Linked DNA regions of Homo sapiens: all the other regions are linked to region 2. Evidence: promoter capture Hi-C in 16 types of primary human blood cells and fetal thymus (Javierre and others, 2016). All regions are on one chromosome and are shown on one strand. The core of a region is centred on a gene start or on the middle of the fragment in contact, and the rest is flanking DNA. Distances in the headings are between cores, read along the strand shown.

Region 1 (3,942 bases), core at 922-3,421, 4.5 Mb before region 2:
CCGACGCGGAGAGCGGCTCTAGGTGGGTTTGGCGGCGGCGAGGACACCGCCGCTCCCTCTAGGGTCGCTCGGAGCGTGACCCTGAGAACTCTCCTTAATGCAGGAGGGGTGTGCGCCCGCTCGCCAATCCGTAAGGACACCGGCCGACCCCGGGCCTGCGTTTCTCAGCGTTCGGAGTTGCCTTCGCTTAATGGCGAGGCGGATCGTTCTGGAGCTTCCACCTCTTTAGAGGCACGAATCTGTCTGCTGGGCTGCCGATAAATTTTTAACAGATATAGCATACGCAGAAAAGTGCATACGACATACACGTTTAAAGAAGAATTAATAAAACACCCAGATAAAAACGAAAAGGGCATTACCGGCACCCCAGGAGTTTCTCACCCATGCCCTGTGCTCCTTTCGGAGCCTGATTGTCTCCTAGCCTGACTAGTGTGATCATTTCCTTACAGCTTTACCATCTATGTGTGCATGCGATGTCGTTTTCCTTTGCCTGTTTTTGAACTTTTGCGGGTGGATCACAGTGTGTTGTTTTGTGGTTTTCAATCAGTATTAAATTGGTGTACTGTGTATGTATAGGTAATTTTAATTGTTGCCTAGTATTCCAGTGTGAATAGAACAGTGAATCCATTCTACTCTGGTTGGGCATTTTGTTCAGACTGAGGCCACTCAGAACATGGCTATAAACATTCTAGTGTACCTGGAACGTAGTGCAAATATGTTGGAATTTCCAGGACATGCACTTTGGAGTCCTTAGAGAATTGTCGATGCGTAGAGTATGCATAACTACCACCCAATGCCAAATTTTTATTTGGAGTGCAACAAAGCTAACTTCCCAAGACACACTTTGCTTTGTAGTTCCTGGAACCCCTTTCCCCCACTTTTTTTCCATTAAGAGTAGGTTTTCTCATTGAGCACTGAAAACTGCCAAGACAGCATTGAGTGGGGTTTTTTGTTGTTGTTGATGGTGGTTTTTGAGAAAGGGTCTCGTTCTGGAGTGCAGTGGCGCAATCTTGGTTCACTGCAACCTCTGCCTCCTGGGCTCAAGTGATCCTCCTACCTCAGCCTCCCAAGTAGCTGGAACCACAGGTGCAGGCCACGATGCTCAGCTAATTTTCTTATTTTTTGTAGAGAGGGGGTCTCGCTATGTTGCCCAGGCTGGTCTCAAATTCCTGGGCTCAAGTGATCCGCCCGCCTTAGCCTCCCAAAAGTGCTGGGATCAAAAGTGTGAGCCACCGAGCCTGGGTCAGCAGTGAGTTTTTAAGGTTGCCTTACAGAGTACCACTTGATAGTTGACCCCTGATCATTTAGCATTTTGTAAGTGTAAAAAAAAAAAAACTTACCTGAAGTATTCTCAATGGTCTTTTTTTCAAACATTCTTCCCTACACCAAGGGCAGAGAAACCTTTAGAAATTACACATACGTGGCCAGGCGCGGTGTCTCGCGCCTGTAATCCCAGCACTTTGGGAGGCCGAGGCGAGCGGATCACGATGTCAAGAGATCCTGGCCAACATGGTGAAACCCCGTCTCTACTAAAAATACAAAAATTAGCCGGGCGTGGTGGCGGGCTCCTGTAGTCCCAGCTACTCGGGAGGCTGAGGCAGGAGAATCGCTTGAACGCGGGAGGCTGAGGTTGCAGTGAGCCGAGATCGCGCCACTGCACTCCATCCTGACGACAGAACGAGAATCTGTCTCAAAAGAAAAAAAAAATTACACATGTGTGTCTCGCCTGTGTTTGGTTCCTGTGTTGGTGCCTCTGGATATTTGTCAAACTAGAGTTCCTACATTCCTTATCAGGTTATTTCTGTCGAATCTCTAGCACTTTTAAGTGACGTATAATCTTGTAGGCAAGTGAATGAAGTCAGTGAGTATATGTCACATTGACTTACTCCTGACTCACATGCAGCTTGTCTTTAGATGGGCAGATAAGATGCTGGCCCTACTGGAGCGACTGTGGTTGTGCCGTCCTGAGCACCCTTCCTCCAGTGGCCCCGGTTTTCAAGGCTTTGACACAATGGACCTAAAGTCTCCTTTTTCAAGCTTGGCTGCATATCCACAGTGCTTTTGTGCATGATGTTACGTTGTTCTGGAGGTTTCATTTTGTAATTCCAGTTACCTTTGATGAAAGAAATTAGTAAAAACTTTTTGGATGTGAGTAATTGCAGAAGCCATGTGGCTGCTGAGTTTCTACGTAAGCCTTGGGGTAAAAAGACACTGAGATTCTCTCCTTTGTTCCAGGAAGTCCCGGAATTTCCTATTTTTCTATTTTCTCTGTGTGTTTTATTTTTTTTCCTTCCCTGAAAGCTTTGGAAATGCCTGAGGAGAGGTGAGTTGAACTTGTCTTAGCTGTCTGGTTACTCCGGTTAGTTGGAGGCTAGTTCTCACCCACAGCTGCTTATCAGATTAAAGAGGGCATGTCCTGTGTGACAGTGCTCCAGATTGCATCCTGTCTTCCCAGGGAACACATACTTAGAGCTGTGATTAAAGAGAGTTTGAGATGCTATGTGGAGCAGCTCTGGGGCAGGCATGGCTAGTTTTTATCATATCAAAACATGGCTAGTTTTATCATGATTCCTTGGCGGTTGTTAATAATATTAACCAAACACTGTAGCTTCCATTTACTGAGAGCCTATATGATGTGCCAAGCAGTATGCTAAATGCCTTACCTTCATTATCTCATTATAAACTTCACAAGGCAAAGCACTTCCCCTGCCACACCCGCCCCAAAAAAGAGTGGCAGTTTGATATGGTTCAACCTAATGCCTTTTACGTATGAGGAAGCTGAGACTGAAACTTTATGTAAGTCCAGGGCTGTCTGACTCTGGAACTTGTGCTTGTTTGCTGTCTGAAGATACTGCTCAATAAGATGTAGCCAGCTGAGCAATAGCAAAGCCAGTTTCTCTGCAAACTTCTATCAGTTACACTGCACAGTTTCCAAGATGGATGGGGTTCAGTTTTTGTGAATCTTAAACAGTTCAAAACCGAGTATTAGTAACTCTTCTTTTCATATTTTACAGGATACCATGAAATAGATTACATCCCATGTTCTATACATTTAATAACCTTGTTTTTGGGTTTAATGTAAACAACCTTTAGTGGCCACTACAACATGTAAGACCCTGCGCACTACTAACAGTAATAAGATATGATTCCTGACTGAAAGGAATTCATTCTTTAAAAATGTATTTTTAATTTTTATAGATGTATAATAGTTGTACATATTTATGGGGTACCTGTGGTATTTTTATACAAATATGTACAATGTGTAATGATCAAATCTGGGCAGTTTTTTGAGACAAGGTCTTGTTCTGTCACCGAGGCTGGAGTGCAGTGGTGCGATCTTGGCTCACTGCAACCTCTGCCCCCCAGGTTCAAGCAATTCTCATGCCTCAGCCTCCCGAGTAGCTGGGATCACAGGCGTGTGCCACCACGTCTGGCTAATTTTTGTATTTTTAGTAAAGATGGCGTTTCACCATGTTGGCCAGGCTGGTCTCAAACTCCTGGCTTCAAGTGATCCACCCACCTTGGCATCCCAAAATGCTGTGATTACAGGCGTGAATCACAGCACTGGCCTGAATCTAGGGTTTAAAAAAAAAAAAAAAAACGCTGCAACAGAGCCTCCAAATAACATGAAAAAATAAATCCAGTAAGATATTACTTTATATGCTTGGAACTAAGTGCTTAACATTCTGTGATTAATAATAATAAAATTTTGAGGGTGAAGCAATTGAGCACAGTATCTACATATTCTAAAACTGAACTGTAGTCACTTGTGGATTCTGTAAATATTTGGCACCAATAAACATTAATTTTTGGCTGGGCGTGCTACCTCACGCCTATAATCCTAGCACTTTGGGAGGCCTAGGTGGGTAAATTCCTTGACCCCAGGAGTTGGAGACCAGCTTGGGCAAGATGGTGAAACCCATCTCTACAAAAAATAAAACA
Region 2 (4,468 bases), core at 1,663-4,162:
TAAATAGGCAAAACTTTTCAGTTTGGCCACTAGAGGTCTCTTTGTGCATGTCTGATGTTCAACTTTGCACATAAAGGTTTCACTTCACGTTCTGTTTACCAGTATTAAAATCTACAAAGCTTTGGACTCTTTACTTTTCCCTCACTGAAAATTCCTGGTGGTCAAATTTTGAGCTCTAGAAGGTAGATGTAGTTTTCACACTAATTTCATAAATTAATCATTGCACTACCATGTACTGGTACTTTTCTGGAAAAGATCTTAAAGGATGCAAAAATATTTTCAGTTCCCTGGGAGACATTTTATACGGGGAAATATTCTTATTCATGCATTGTATTCACTTACAACCAGGCACAGTGAATATCATTAAGTATTCATAAACCAGATGAACGATTCCATGCCCAGTATTTGAAAGATGAGCTAGGTTTTCTACCATGGCCATATGTCAGCAATCCTATCCTAAAAAGGGAAGGGCTAAGAACTCTTCTTATTGAGATATCTGTTCAAAGTAATGTCCGTCTTCCCTAGTTATGAGACTTGGCAATTTCTTTGACTTTCAGGATAAGAGATTTATCATGTAAGATTCTGTATGTAATCTTCAGAAGAGAAATTTTTAAAAAAATATTTTTTCCTCCATGACTCTGGCCCTGAGAATTGTGTTAGATTGCTGTCTTAATGAGCTCCTTGTTCATTTTCTATGGCGAACAGTAAGCATCGTCTAAACCTCAGAAGATGTTAGATACTGAAAATGTAAACTATTATTTTTAATGGCCATTTTCCTAAATATGCCACCAGATCAAGTATACTAACTGTATTTTGTAATGTTTTGCAGGAAAAGACTATGCATCTACTTCACATAACTCCAATTTTAAACTCTTGCTGTCAGCATAGCTATTAGAAACAGGCTAATATAAGATCCCTGGGGACAATTTACTAGATTCTCCTCAAGGGAGAAACCCAGGTGCCGGGTCAAGGCAACAGTTTATCAACAAAGCAAGGAAGACACAGGAGGAAGAAAAAGAAGAATGGAGGTAGAAAGGCTCATAGAAAAAAAAAAAAGACCAATTTAATCCCTCTTTCCTGGAGATAGAATTAAGCTAGACTTGGTGGCCCGCTTTGGCCATCTGTGTTTTAAAATGTCATATCACAAATAAAAAGTATGCTTTTACTGATAGCTGTAACTTGTGGTACTACTTAAAGCATACGTTTAAAAATATTTAATGATTAATAGTAATGAGATTTTTTTTTTTTTTTTTGAGACATAGCCTCTCTGTGTCGCCCAGGCTGGAGTGCAGTGGCGCGATCTCGGCTCACTGCAAGCTCCGCTTCCCGGGTTCACGCCATTCTCCTGCCTCAGCCTCCTGAGTAGCTGGGACTACAGGCGCCCCCCACCACGCCCGGCTAATTTTTTGTATTTTTAGTAGAGACGGGGTTTCACCGTCTTAGCCAGGATGGTCTCGATTTCCGGACCTCGTGATCCGCCTGCCTCGGCCTCCCAAAGTGCTGGGATTACAGGCGTGAGCCACTGCGCCCAGCCAATACTGATAATTCTCAGTATCTAGTATTAACCGGGTTACGTTTAAAAAAAATAGTTCATAATTAGTGCCCTTTTAAATAACTGATCTGTAGAAATCATTTAATTTCCTTAAGTGATATTTAAAGATAGAGATATCTAATTTCTTGTAATAGTACCAAAGACATCCAGCACTATAACGTCTACAGAGTATGACGTCTAGCGGTAAAATGGCTTTATTCTCAGAACAGAGTATCGGTTTCCTCATTTGCTTGCTGCCTCTGTTTCCTTTTTACGTTCACGTCTCTGTGCTGTAACCTTCCAAATCCTTATCACCAGGCCCCAGGAAATATCACCTGGTCGGCACACTCCTGCAGGGCCAGATCACTGTGCACACACTTAACCTTCCATTGTTTTCCATACGTTTCCTAGGATGCGGGGGGCTAGAGGATGACGGAGAGTTGCCTCCCGGTTCTTCCTCTCGTTCTTATCTTGGGCCCTCTAGGACAAATGTCCCTCACGTCCCTCGATGCGAAGGTCTGGCCGCGAGCAGCCGCGGCCTCCGGCACGTGACGGTCACGGAGCCGTCGCGGTCCCCCGCGGCTGGGGGGCACCCGGGGATGCGGCGGGCGCTGACGTCGTCCTCCCGGTTACCCACAAGCCTCCGGGCCGCAGCAGAGCAGGAAGAGGCGCGCGGGGCCGGCGCCTGCCGGGGAGGTCGAGGCGCTCCCTCGGCGAGCCGGCGCCGCCGGCCGGGTCTCCTACTGCTTGCAACCGGGGGAGGGGGACCATCCGACAGCTCAGCCGGGGCTGAGAGGGAGACGACGCCAAGGCGGTCTTGCATCGCCCCCGGCTTTCCAAATGCAGACCCTACCGGAACCGGAGCCCTTCCCTGACAGCCGTAGGACGGGAGACGGCCGAGGGGTCGCCTGGACTGCCCCGCCCTCGCGCGGTGACCCACCGGGGACCGTGCGAGGGTCGCTTCTAACCCTTAAGAGCTAGAGAGCCGAGTCACCCTGAGGAGCGCCGTATGGCGCTGGTTGCGCGTTGTTCTTTAATCAGCCTCACTGAACGCGCCGATCCCAGTTTTACCTCCCGGGCCCCACCTTTCCACGCCTCCTCCGGCTTCCCGGGGTGTTTTGTGTGTCACTCTCCCACGTACAGTCCCTCCCCGTCCCTCGTTCCTCGGCCCTCTCGCCCGGTCTCCCTAGTCGTCCAGACGCTAGCTGCCGCGGGCGTTCCTGGTTCGCGCTCCCGCCCCCTCCGCCCCGCCGACTCGCCGCTTCCTCCGGAGCCCCAGCGTCCCGAACCAGGGACTGCATTTCCCGGCAGGCGCCGCGGCCCGCGGCCAATGAGGGGCTGAGGATTTGGCGGCGGCGGCGCCCCGAGAGTCGGGGTGGGGGGGCTTTGTGCGCGGCGGCGGCGGGAGAGGCGGCGGCGGCGGCCAGCACGGAGGCGGAGGCCGAGGGGGCTGTGCACAGGTCGCCGCGGAGAGGCGTGCGAATTCCGAGCCGAGCGCCGAGGACCGTGCTACCCAGGCCGGGCTGCCAGCCGCAGGCTCCTCTCTGGCAGCAGCGGCGGCGCGGCGACCCCCGTCCCTCGGCCTCCCCTTCCCATCCCACCTCCCGAGCCTTCCTCTTCCCGCAGCACGCCCGGCCCGGCCCGGCCGTGGCCCTCCTCAGTGCCGGCCGCCATGGCAGAGGCGTCCGGCGCGGGGAAAATCTAGCCCGGGGATTTCATGCGGCCTAGCTCGGTTCCGCCTCCTCCTCGCGCGGCCCCAGCGGCTGCCCGCACCCCAGCCCCACTCCGGGCCTCCGTGTCTCTCCTGTGATCGCACTGACACGGCCGGGGGGTTAGAATGGAACAAACTGAAGGTAAAGTGCGTGTGCGTGTGTGTATGTGTGTGTGTGTGTGTGTGTGTGTGTGCGCGCGCGCGCGTGTGTAGTGCTAGGAAGGGCTGAGGAGGGAACGACGGGGAGGGGGCGACCTAGGGATGGAGCGCCAGACCCCAGGAGGAATGGAAGGGGAAGCGGGTGGCCTGAAAGGGCTCGAGGGGAGTCCTGACGGAGGAGCAGATGGCAAGGTGGGGGGTGTGGAGGGAATTGGGGGGTGGGCCAGGGGAGGTGGGGAGTGGGATGGGAGTCGGAGTGGCGCTGAGCTGGGAATTGGGAAAGTGGGATGGGGGCGGGGATAAGGATGGATCGGGGAGGGGCAGGGAAAGGGGAGAAGAGTTGCATGGAGATTACAGACCTGGGTGGACTGATAAATAGGGAGATTTGGGGATGGAGTGTAGGAACCAGAAGAGTCTGGGAGAAGGGGATAAATTTGCTGGAGAAATGGGGCATTTTATGGGAATGAAGGGAGAAATGAGGAATGGAAGTGAAGGAAAAGGTGGATTAGGAAAGGGGATGAGGCAGGCTGCAATAGGAGAATGGGAAATAGACGCAGGAAACTGGAAGACAGGATTGGGCTAGGGAAGGAAATTAACTGAATGATGACAGGGATGAGAACGATCGACTTAGCGTCAGAGTGGGAGGAAGAGAAGGGGATGGAGGTCGTTAAAGTGTTAGGAAGGGAGGCCTTTTGTTCCTGTATTTGTGTGTATTCTGTGTCTTTCTTTCAAGGCTAGAGAATAGAGAAGCTGGTGGTTATGGGATTGTGATTGTTGTGAAATGGGGAGGTGTGGGTTTTACTGTTTTGAGGGAGAAGGCGATGTGTTTGTGTTATGGAAGGGAGGCAGGGAGAGACATGGCCATAATTTGATGGTTTTGGGGAGGGAGTGAAGATTATTTCGATTTAAAGGGGGCAGGGGCAGCCATGTTTGCTGCCAAGGCACTGCAGTGTAAATAAATTCCTTTTCCTCTCCGACATCAGTATGAATCTGGAAGGGGCCAATTCAGACTGTTAGCCCCCTTTCTTTCTATTCATGAACTCTTTTCCCCTTACGTCTTGGGTCAT
Region 3 (4,390 bases), core at 527-3,026, 3.8 Mb before region 2:
AGTCCAGGGTTCAGGAGAGTGGGCTGAGCTTGAGATATAAATTTGGGTGTTTTCAGTATATGGATATTTAAAGTAGTAGGACCTGTTGAGATGACCGAGGGAAGGAGTGTGGAGAGATAAGAGAACCAGATTCCAGGGACACTCCAAATTTAAGAGTTCACATAAGAGAGGAGGATCTGAAATCATTTAATCCCCCCAACTACTCTAAAATGAATTACCGTTGTGATCCCCTTTTCGTAGATGAGGAAGCTGCAAAGACAGCTTAAATAACTGCCCAAGGTCGAACAGCAAAGCTGTGATTCAAGGACGTTGGAAGATCTGAGCAGAATGGCTCAGATTCCACACTTCCTACCTCTAAGCCCAGGAACCCATTGAAGAAATGTGAAGCAGGAGAGTGGCACACTTTCAGATTTCCATTTCAGAAAGACTATGTGTGCAGGATGGACTGTAACAGGCTGAGCCTGGAGGCTGGGAGGTTATTTAGACAATTGCAGTAATCCCTAGGAGAGAGCTAGTGCCTGGAGCCATGAGGCAGGGATTAGAGAGAAGTGGACACCTTCCAGAGAAGATAGGGATTAGGGATTAATGGAATGTCAGTGGTGAGGCAGAGTAGGTTTCTGATTCGGGCAATGACATGGATGGAAGCATCATGTGTTGAGATGGGGATCACTGGAAGAGAGGCCCCTTGCGGGGAGGGCGCATGAATCCAGTATATAGCAATGCCTGGGGGCATGAACCAAGTTGACACTCAAGTGTTTGTTGAATTGAATCAAGTAACATAGAATCTGAGAGCTCATGTAATACTTTCCCATGACTTTAAGAGAGGCCACAGGAAATCATTGACAAATGATAAGTCAGTCTATTTTGTGCATAAAAATCTCTAGGGAAAGATTTCCTAAAGCTGCCACTCACAAACCATTCTAATGTTTAACAGCTCTCACTGCTGAGAAATTTTTCTACCATAAAAAGTTAATCCTAGCTATCAGGATTCACTGGGAACCATTTATTTATTTATTTATTTATATTTCATTTTTGGTCTGAGACAAGAGAGGCCTTGCCCACCCAGAAAGACATTTTTTTCAGAGCTGCAACATCATTTCTGCGTCTTTGCCACTTCCTCCCTGTTCACACGTATGCTCTCCTTGCAACACACCTCACTACCGGTCATGCACTGAAGCAATGGAATGCCTTCTCCTCATGCCTCCCTTCTCACGGAGCCCTCTACCTGGCACATGTTTGTCTTTTACTCATCCTATTTTGGAAATTCGCTCCAGCCCGCAAGGCCCAGCCATATGTTTCCTCCTCCACAAAGTCTGTTTGAAGCTTCTTGCCCCCACACTGGGAGTAATGTTTCCCTCCTCTGTGATCAAAGAGCATTTCCCAGCTCTTTCATGTAACCTACAGAGCGGGCACACTCTGCCATGCATCAACATGTGCATCTGCTGACCAAATCTGGATTCTAAGCTCTTTGGGAAACCACAGTGTGTCTCACAATGTCTAGTGAACAATCACCTATTAAACTAACAGTGATGGAGTGCTTACAACCTCCTGGACACTGCGGGTACAAAGATGCGGTACTCTATGTTACTTCAAGGAACATACAGTCAAGTGGAGGGGGGATTTAAAGTGTAGACTGCTCCCCTTATCAAAACCAGGCCGGGCGCCGTGGCTCACACCTGTAATCCCAGCACTTTGGGAGGCCAAGGCGGGTGGATCACCTGAAGTCAAGAGTTCGAGACCAGCCTGGCCAACATGGTGAAACCTTGTCTCTACTAAAAATAGAAAAAAAAAAAATTAGCCCAGTGTGGTGGCATGCACCTATAGTCCCAGCTACTCGGGGAGGCTGAGGCAGGAGAATCACTTGAACCCAGGAGGCAGAAGTTGCAGTGAGCCAAGATCACGCCACTGCACTCCAGCCTGGGCCACAGAGGGAGACTCCATCTCAAAAAAAAAAAAAAAAAAAAACCAGCTCCTTTAAGCCTGGCCATGAAAGGAGCCTGTCCATGTGGAGAGGAGAGACTGAACCTGACGCCCTACTCTAGAAAAAGAGATCCGCTTTCCCCTTAGGGACCTCTCACTGCTGGCTGCAGCTCCCACCACCATACTGGTTTTGGGAGGGTCAGTATCCCTTTAACTCTTCAATGGCATTTAAGACACACTATTTTTTGTTGTTTGTTTAATTTCCTATAGCAGAGCAGAGACCAGGATGGACATTTATCCAAAGCTTGTCTAAAGACTTGAAGATAGGCCGAGCACAGTGGCTCACGCCTGTAATCCCAACATTTTGGGAGACAGAGGTGGGCGGATCACTTGAGGTCAGGAGTTCGAGACCAGCCTGGCCAACCCATTTCTACTAAAAATACAAAAATTAGCTGGGCATGGTGGCGGCCACCTGTAATCCCAGCTACTCGGGAGGCCGAGGCATGAGAATGGCTTGAACCTGGAAGGCAGAGTTTGCAGTGAGCCAAGATCGTGCCATTGCACTCCAGCCTGGGTGATAGAACGAGACTCAGTCTCAAAAAAAAAAAAAAAAAAGACTTGAAGATAACAGAAAGGAAGTGAGCAGAAAGAGTAACATGCAACTAAAAATGTAGCTCACAAATGTGATCCAATCCGGGCATCTTAGATGTCTCTATGGGATGCACACCTGCTTCCAGGGGACAGGGATGCTGTGTACCTCCTCTCACCTAGGAGCCCCGGCAAGCCATCTGGAGTTCCTGAAATCCAAACCTTGTCTGACAAGGAGACAGCAGCCTCCCTCTCCTGGTGGCCTCAGGCTGGCCTCCTGGTTCCAGTCTCCTGAGGGACATAATTATTGCACCAAATGGTCCCTTCCCCAGATGATTAGCCACAAGAATATCCAATCATGAGGCCACACCCTCACCTCAGGGGCATGGCATTATTCTGTGGCTTGTTAGTAGACGCTCCGCGGTTCTTTCTCTGCACTCTCCCTAGATGGCTTCATGAGTGTAATACCCTTTTAATGATGACAGCTCTCGATGTATCTCCAACCTCAACTGTTTTCCCCAGCTTAGTAAACAATACCACCATCCATCCAGCTACTCAAACCCATGAGTCATCCTCAAGTCCTCCATTACCCTCATCCCCTCATGTAATCAGAAGCATACCCTGTGGATTCTATCTTCAATGTACATCAGGAATTCAGAATCTCTCCAATGCAATGTCATCACTTTAGTCCAGGCCACAATCACCACTTCCCTGAAAGATGATAACCGCTGCCATACTGGTCTCCCATTTCTACTCTCACCCCTCCAATCCATTTTCTATACAGCAGCAAAAGTGAGCTTTTAAAACTGTAAACAGTTATGTGCAGCTTGGAACCCATCAATGCATTCCCATGGCATTAAATCAAAAATGCCTTTACTACTTCTTTTTTTTCCCCGCTTAGAGTCAGGGTCTCACTGTGTTGCCCAGGCTGGAGTGCAGTGATGTGATCATAACTCATTGCAGCCTTGAACTCCTGGACTCAAGCAATACTCCCGCTTCAGCCTCCTGAGTAAATGGGACTACAGGCATGCCACCACACCTGACTACCTTTAACACTTATCTGTCCTCTCGATCTCTCCAGTTGAATCTCTTGCCACACCCCTCCACCACTCACCCCCACTCTCAGCTCTGGGCCTAGAATATGCTCTTTCCTCTGTTTGGAAGCTCCTGTTCTTCCTTTAAGTCTTCCTTTATGGTACCTTCTCAGGGAGTCTTCCATTAAGCACCTTGTCTAAATCTACCCCCCATCTTTGTCTTCCTCTACCACCCTAAGTATTCTGTCTCTATTCTTTATAATACCCATCGAAGCTTGTAATTACTGTGTTTATTTATCTGTGGTCTTTTCTTCTTTGTCAGTCTTCCCCACTAGAGTATGTGCCCCCTGAGGTCAGGCACTGTGTCTGTCCTGCTCACCTTTGTAGCCATTGCCTAGCACAATATCTGGCATTCAGGAGGTTTCAGTAAATGTTTGTTGCCCTGTGAAAAGCAGTTTGGGGATCTCTCAAAGAACTTAATATAGCACTACCATGCAATCCAGCAATCCCATTACTGGGCATATACCCAAAGGAAATAAATTGTTCTACCAAAAAGACATATGCACTTGTATGTTCATCACTGTGCTATTCACAATAGCAAAGACATGGAATCAACCTAGGTGCCCATCAATGGTGGATTGGATAAAGAAAATGTGGTACATATACACCGTGGAATACTATGTAGCCATAAAACAGAGTGAAATCATGTCCTTTGTAGCAACATGAATGCAGCTGGAGGCCGTTATCCTAAGCAAATTAATGCAGAAACAGAAAAGCAAATACTGCATGTTTTCACTTGTAAGTGGGAGCTAAATGTTAGGTACACACAGACACAAAGATGGGAACAA

What was found. Contacts are between HindIII fragments. The CHiCAGO score rates a contact against its expected background, and 5 or more counts as called.
Region 1: a fragment that was not itself captured here is called in contact with the fragment with the promoter of NSD3 in region 2 in 1 of 17 cell types (naive CD8 T cells); the score reaches 5.8 in naive CD8 T cells.
Region 3: a fragment that was not itself captured here is called in contact with the fragment with the promoter of NSD3 in region 2 in 1 of 17 cell types (naive CD8 T cells); the score reaches 5.4 in naive CD8 T cells.

Annotation. Positions count from the first base shown.
Region 1 is chr8:42,892,334-42,896,275 of GRCh38, reverse strand. All of the region lies in intron 1 of RNF170 (ring finger protein 170), which reads left to right. MIR4469 (microRNA 4469) reads left to right here and starts at 1; the gene lies at 1-79. RefSeq lists silencers at 1-79, 1-86 and an enhancer at 1-554. The HindIII fragment of the contact is 264 bases long and covers 2,040-2,303 here.
Region 2 is chr8:38,380,715-38,385,182 of GRCh38, reverse strand. NSD3 (nuclear receptor binding SET domain protein 3) reads left to right here and starts at 2,912. Exons shown (of 24, transcript NM_023034.2): 1 at 2,912-3,384. It also overlaps a transcript of LETM2 not described here. RefSeq lists enhancers at 1-63, 2,774-3,564, 3,855-4,389 and silencers at 2,006-2,355, 2,546-2,695, 2,726-3,125. The HindIII fragment of the contact is 5,398 bases long and covers 122-4,468 here.
Region 3 is chr8:42,144,865-42,149,254 of GRCh38, reverse strand. No RefSeq gene overlaps it. Among named protein-coding and RNA genes, the nearest start is that of AP3M2, 6.0 kb to the left of the region's middle. The HindIII fragment of the contact is 901 bases long and covers 1,326-2,226 here.